Linked DNA regions of Homo sapiens: region 2 is linked to region 1. Evidence: promoter capture Hi-C in 16 types of primary human blood cells and fetal thymus (Javierre and others, 2016). All regions are on one chromosome and are shown on one strand. The core of a region is centred on a gene start or on the middle of the fragment in contact, and the rest is flanking DNA. Distances in the headings are between cores, read along the strand shown. Region 1 holds the start of OR2C1 (olfactory receptor family 2 subfamily C member 1). Region 2 overlaps MEFV (MEFV innate immunity regulator, pyrin).

What was found. The method cuts DNA at HindIII sites, captures the fragments that hold promoters and counts their contacts. A CHiCAGO score of 5 or more calls a contact.
Region 2: a fragment that was not itself captured here is called in contact with the fragment with the promoter of OR2C1 in region 1 in 1 of 17 cell types (megakaryocytes); the score reaches 5.5 in megakaryocytes.

The regions. Positions count from the first base shown.
Region 1 is chr16:3,354,266-3,357,833 of GRCh38, forward strand. It overlaps OR2C1 (olfactory receptor family 2 subfamily C member 1), which reads left to right and starts at 1,624. Exons shown (of 1, transcript NM_012368.3): 1 at 1,624-3,041. The coding sequence starts at 1,676. The coding sequence ends at 2,614. The HindIII fragment of the contact is 3,889 bases long and covers 1,207-3,568 here.
Region 2 is chr16:3,242,024-3,245,591 of GRCh38, forward strand. It overlaps MEFV (MEFV innate immunity regulator, pyrin), which reads right to left. Exons shown (of 10, transcript NM_000243.3): 7 at 2,450-2,565; 8 at 2,231-2,263; 9 at 1,837-1,869; 10 at 4-1,671. The coding sequence ends at 1,118. Among named protein-coding and RNA genes, the nearest start is that of ZNF200, 8.6 kb to the left of the region's middle. RefSeq lists an enhancer at 1,299-2,498. The HindIII fragment of the contact is 4,878 bases long and covers 1-3,568 here.

The sequences.
Region 1 (3,568 bases), core at 374-2,873:
TGAGCCACTGTACCCGGTCTCATGAGATGTTAAGAATTATTTGATGATTTAGACGTGGACACAGTAGTTATATACCTCAAAAGAGGGATCTCCTCTGTAAATCTTCTAATTTCCCTTACTAATTATGAATACCCATTAACTATTTTAACCCCTTTTTGTGTAACCTCTGTTTATATCTTTTGCCTTTTCCACCTAAACTTATTTAAGCTTAAGTGAAGTTTTGTTTGCTCTACATTGACCTCCTCTTAAATTGTACATTCCCAGCTTCTGTATTTGGAGCATAAGTCTGTATCTACTCTTTCCATTATTTCTGTGACTTTATAGATTCATCATGTTATTCCTCAAACATCATCTTTCTAGATCCAGCACTGAGGTAAAACTCAGAGGGGAGGGATGTAGAAGAGAGCAGAGGAAATTTAACAGAAAATTCTGGGGAGCTTTTCCAAATACAATGTGTCTGCTTCCCCCCTTCCCTGAGCGTATCAGAATCTTGGCTGGGGAAATGTGTTGTTGCTGTTGTTTTCAAGAGATAGGGTCTCCCTCTGTCACTCAGGCATTGGAGTACAGGGGCTCACTGCTGCCTTGAACACTGGGGCTCAAGAGATCCTCCCACCTCAGCCTCTTAAAATGCTGGGATTACAGGTGTGAGCCACCATGCCTGACTGAAATTTCAGTCTGACTGAAAGTTTTTGAGAACTTTCACATCTAATTCTAATGGTCAACTCTCTCTATCCCGTCATAGCCATTGTTCTGAACTGAAGGGCTCTTCAGTTCTTGGGGTCTTTTGGTTTTGTCATCATGAGGCACTTCCTTCATTTCCGTGTTAGCTCATACCTGACATTCTGATGGAATCAACTTTTCCATTCGGTGTGTAACCAACAGTAGATGGGGATTACAACAGAAGTTTGAAATCTAGGCCACGCACGGTGGCTCACACCTGTAATCCCAGCTTTTTGAGAGGCTGAGGCTGGCATATCACGAGGTCAGGAGTTCGAGACCAGCCTGGCCAACATGGTGAAACCCCGTCTCTACTAAAACAAAAATTAGCCAGGCATGGTGGTGCATGCCTGTAGTCCCAGCTACTCGTGAGGCTGAGGCAGGAGAATTGCTTGCACCTGGGAGGCGGAAGTTGCAATGAGCCGAGATTGCACCACTGCACTCCAGCCTGGGTGACAGAGCGAGACTCTGTCTCAAAAAAAAAAAAAAAGCTTGCAATCTTAAAAAGTAAGTTGGAGTCCAGGTGCAGTGGTTCATGCCTGTAATCCCAGCACTTTGGGAGGCTGAGGCAGATGGATCACTTGAGCCCAAGAGTTGGAGACAACCCTGGGCAACATGGCAAAACCCCATCTCTACAAAAAATACAAAAGTTATTTGGATGTGGTGGCACACACCTGTGGTCACAGTTACTTGGGAGGCTGAGACAAGAGGATTGCTTGAGCCAGGGAGAAGGAGGTTGCAGTGAGCTGAGATTGTGCCACTGCACTCCAACCTGGGTGACAGTGAGAGACTCTGTCTCAAAAAACAAACAAAAAATAGGTTGTTACTTAACTATGGATCCCAGAGAACTATTAGACCGTTCCTGATGCAAATCCACCTCATCCAACAGCTTTTTCTTGACTTTTCTTCCAGCAGCTTGCGCTAAATGAATTCATCAAGTGACTGAAGACAACCAGTGATGGACGGGGTGAATGATAGCTCCTTGCAGGGCTTTGTTCTGATGGGCATATCAGACCATCCCCAGCTGGAGATGATCTTTTTTATAGCCATCCTCTTCTCCTATTTGCTGACCCTACTTGGGAACTCAACCATCATCTTGCTTTCCCGCCTGGAGGCCCGGCTCCATACACCCATGTACTTCTTCCTCAGCAACCTCTCCTCCTTGGACCTTGCTTTCGCTACTAGTTCAGTCCCCCAAATGCTGATCAATTTATGGGGACCAGGCAAGACCATCAGCTATGGTGGCTGCATAACCCAGCTCTATGTCTTCCTTTGGCTGGGGGCCACCGAGTGCATCCTGCTGGTGGTGATGGCATTTGACCGCTACGTGGCAGTGTGCCGGCCCCTCCGCTACACCGCCATCATGAACCCCCAGCTCTGCTGGCTGCTGGCTGTGATTGCCTGCCTGGGTGGCTTGGGCAACTCTGTGATCCAGTCAACATTCACTCTGCAGCTCCCATTGTGTGGGCACCGGAGGGTGGAGGGATTCCTCTGCGAGGTGCCTGCCATGATCAAACTGGCCTGTGGCGACACAAGTCTCAACCAGGCTGTGCTCAATGGTGTCTGCACCTTCTTCACTGCAGTCCCACTAAGCATCATCGTGATCTCCTACTGCCTCATTGCTCAGGCAGTGCTGAAAATCCGCTCTGCAGAGGGGAGGCGAAAGGCGTTCAATACGTGCCTCTCCCATCTGCTGGTGGTGTTCCTCTTCTATGGCTCAGCCAGCTATGGGTATCTGCTTCCGGCCAAGAACAGCAAACAGGACCAGGGCAAGTTCATTTCCCTGTTCTACTCGTTGGTCACACCCATGGTGAATCCCCTCATCTACACGCTGCGGAACATGGAAGTGAAGGGCGCACTGAGGAGGTTGCTGGGGAAAGGAAGAGAAGTTGGCTGAGAGAACACTCCTTCGTTATTTATTGCGTCTTCATCTCTACATGCGTTTCTCATTAACTCTCTCTGGCCAGGTGAACATGAGGAATACTAATTCCGGTAAAACCAAGGCATGTTCCTGACAGCCCTAAGCTGACAGCCCTAAGCTGTTGGGAACATGGTTAGTGTTATTCGTAATGTTCTACACTTATTTACCAAAAATCCTACTGTGGACTACCGATAGCAGGGGAGACATGTTGTTGAGGGCTCAGAGGTTATTGACCTGTGACAGACCTGTCTCACTGTCTCTGTCTCTGTTGCCCACATGTTATTTAATATGCCTTATATTTCTGCAGAATTCTGTACTTTTCTAAGCAAAGCACCTCCACTTGCAGTATCTTACATAATGTTACTATAATTCCATAAAATCAAGCCATGTATTATTAACTTCATATGAAGACCCAAACAATTCATGTTTTTACCCTATCTGTCATTATCTTTGCCTACCTCTTTTTGTCTCTTCTTCATTTTTTTTAAGAGTTGGAGTCTTGCTCTGTTGCCCAGGCTGAAGTAGAGTGGCATGATCTTAGCTCACTGCAGCCTTCAACTCCTGGGCTCAAGCAATCCTTCAGTCTTCTGAGTAGCTGGGACTATAGGCACATGCTACCACACCTAACTAATTTTTATTTTTATTTTTTACAGATGGGGTCTCACTCTGTTAACAGCCCAGGCTGGTCTAGAATTCTTGGCCTCAAGTAATCTTCCTGCCTTGACTTCCCCAAGTGCTGGGATTATGGGTGTGATCTACCGCACCTGGCCTGTCTCTTCTTAATAATGCAGTATACCACTGGGTGCAGTGGCTCACACCTGTAATCCCAGCACTTTGGGAGGCCGAGGCGGGTGGATCACCTGAGGTCAGGAGTTCGGGACCAGCCTGACCAACATGGAGAAACACTGTCTCCACTAAAAATACAAAATT
Region 2 (3,568 bases), core at 462-2,961, 110 kb before region 1:
GACCAGATTTTCTAATTTTTTTATTCATGAGGCCCAGTCAATTCTCTTAAGAATCATGGCCCGGCATGGTGGCTCATGCCTGTAATCCCTGCACTTTGGGAGGCTGAGGTGGGTGCATCACCTGAGGTCAGGAGTTTGAGACCGGCCTGGCCAACATGATGAAACCTCATGTCTACTAAAAATGCAAAAAATTAGCCGGGCATGGTGGCGGGCGCCTGTAATCCCAGCTACTTCGGAGGCTGAGGCAGGAGAATCTCTTGAACCTGGGAGGCGGAGGTTGCGAGCCAAGATTGCACCACTGCACTCCAGCCTGGGTGACAAGAGCAAAACTTTGTCTCAAAAAAAAAAAAAAAAAAGAATCATAGGCCGGGCACAGTGGCTCATGCCTGTAATCCCAGCACTTTGGGAGGCTGAGGCGGGTGGATCACCTGAGGTCAGGAGTTCGAGACCAGCCTGGCTAACATGGTGAAACCCCCGTCTCTACTAAAAATACAAGAAAACCAGCCTGGTGTGGTGGCACGCACCTGTAATCCCAGCTGCTCAGGAGGCTGAGGCAGGAGAATCGCTTGAACCTGGGAGGTGGAGGTTGCAGTGAGCTGAGATCGTGCCACTGCACTCCAGCCTGGGCCACAGAGCAAGATTTGGTCTCAAAAAAAAAAAAAAAAAATCATAGTTCATTAATCCAGGTACACAAATACTTCTATCCCAATCCAGTCTGCTTGCGTTTCTCTAGGCTTCCCATATCCTCAAGACAGAAGCAGAGAGAACAAGGGGACATATATCCTTGCCGTGGGGTTCTGAGGGAAAATGAGGGCCAAATCTTCTGTTCAGGAGCACCTGAGAGTGCCACCCACCAGGGGCGGATTATGCAACGACTCCGTACTTCCTCCTCTGAAATCCATGGTGTGTCATCAGTACATGTCTTCACCCGGATTGACTAACATGTTCGTTCCTAACTTACCTCTGCTATAATCGGGTAGGCTCCGTGGGCACAGTAACTATTTTGTTATTTTTGCATTTCCCATAGCAGCTAGCACCTAGTCGGCATTCCGTGACTATTGAGTGTGAATGCAAGATACAAGGCCAGAAGCAGGAAGAGAGATGCAGTGTTGGGCATTCAGTCAGGCCCCTGACCACCCACTGGACAGATAGTCAGAGGAGCTGTGTTCTTCCCTCCATCACGTGTCCCAGGGCTGAAGATAGGTTGAAGGGGCCCAGAGAAAGAGCAGCTGGCGAATGTATAGATGTGGGATCTGGCTGTCACATTGTAAAAGGAGATGCTTCCAACTCTGTAGTCCACGAAGATGCCCACACGCTTGGGAGGCTCCTTTATTAGCAGGCGGGTCGGGGGAACGCTGGACGCCTGGTACTCATTTTCCTTCATCATTATCACCACCCAGTAGCCATTCTCTGGCGACAGAGTCATGTTCCCTTTCCTGCTTATGGATGTCTTGCAGGCTCCCAGGATCCATGCTGTCTTGTCTCCAACCTCCACCTCCCAGTAACGGCGGCCAGAGAGGAAACTCGGAGAGCCCAGAACAATGATACAGCTGTCAAATCTTTGCGGGCCATCAGGCAGCCTCTCCCACTTGTTTCCAAGTCTAACACTCTTCAGATCATCAGAGAAGATGAGGTTGGGGTAAGCGGTTTCTGCATCCAGAATCACATTAACTGCAAAGAAAATTTGAATACCTAGGTAGGGGTCCATGGGCAACATCCCTACAGGGTTCTCCCCACCTGCAGGAAACAGGGACAGGGTAGTTCTTCTGGAACGTGGTAGGGGAGAGCACAGGGATCCAGCAGGCCAGGGCCACTTGCCTTGATCTGGGCACTTACCAGCATGTGCCTGAGCGCCAATCAGCTCCGGAACTACGGAGAAAAATCAGATAGGGAAAAAAATCCTGAGCATTAGCATTAAGAGGGGCTAAATTACACTGTCCTGACAACAAGGAAAGACAAGGAACCCCCTGCTTAGGGCCCTGCATGCTATGTTGGGTATAATCCCGTTCCTCCCAGGAACCCAGGCCATGTTGGGGACTGTGGTCTAATGAGTCAACTCAGTCAATGAGTCACGCACAGAGCCTGGGGGGCCTGCCATGACCTTTCTCCTACCTTTGCTCCAGGTGTTTGGTTTTTTTTTTTGTCTTCTAAATAGGGCCCCTCAAGTCAACAGCACAAGGGAACACTGCAACAACCCCAGGCCAGCACACACCATTACCGCTGGACTCACCATTGAACATTTCCATTTCTGAACGCAGGGTTTCTAAAATGTGGGAAAGGGAGCAGAGAGAAGCTGGAGTTAGGTCCCTCAGCCAGGGACAGATGGAGGAGAGGTTGAAGGCAGGTCAGCAAGACCAGGGGAAGAGGAGGGAAGTGAGGGGCTCTGGGCTATGTGGATCTTAGGGAGGAAGTGAGCATGCACCTCCAATCTTCTCCCAAGCCCATCTACCTGAGAAGTACTTTGTGCTCTTCTCCACAAACTCTGACTTCTGGTGGAGGAGTTGGATCTTTTGTTTTATCTCTTGAGGAGTGGTCCACTTTTCAGGGACAGGCACTGTCTTAGCCCTAGAGACAAAAGACTGTTGACCAGAGAAGGCCGGAGCGAGGGGGTGGCCCAAGTACCCGTGAGCTGGAAATGAACTACATTCTCCACAGGGCACACCTAGCCCAGCCTGAGCTACACAAAGAAAAGTCTTCCCTGGATTCAGAGGTCTAAATGCTGGTCCTCAACTTTGGCCACAGACTGTCATGTACTGGGGTGCTTTAAAGACATGGATATCAAAACCACAAGGAGTTTTCAGAATGGACTTAAAATGACATTGATATTATCTACTAGAATTATCTATGTCAAATTGATTATACACCCCTTTCTTTCTATTGAAATAAAAAGATAATAAATGAAAAAAAAACACACACAACAAAATATCCCTTCACATCCATTAGAATGGCTATTATAAAAACAGCAACAACAGAAAAAAATAGACCAGGTATGGTGGCTCATGCCTGTAATCCTAGCACTTCAGGAGGCCGGGGCAGTGGGATCGCTTGAGCCCAGGAGTTCAAGTCCAGCTTGGGCAACATGGCGAAACCCTGTCTCTATTAAAAATACAAAAAAGTAGCCGGAAGTGGTAGCACATGCCTGTAGTCCCAGCTACTCAGGATGCCAGCTACTCAGAATCACCCGAGCCCAGGAAGCTGAGCCTGCAGTGAGCTGTGACTGTGCCACTGCTCTCCAGCCTTAGTGATGGGAGTGAGACCTTGTCTCAAGAAGAAAAGAAAGGAAGGAAGGAAGAAAGGAAGGAAGGGAGGGAGGGAGGGAAGGAAGGAAAGAGAAATGGCTGGGCACGGTGGCTCACGCCTGCAATCCCAGCGCTTTGGGAGGCCAAGGTGGGTGGATCACTTGAGGTCAGGAGTTTGAGACCAGCCTGGCTAATATGGTGAAACCCTGTCTACCAAAAAAATTAGCTGGGCATGGTGGCACGCTCCTGTAGTCCCAGCTACTAGGGAGGCTGAGGTGGGAGAATCCCTTGAACCTGGGAGGCAGAGGTTGTAGTGAGCCAAGATCGCG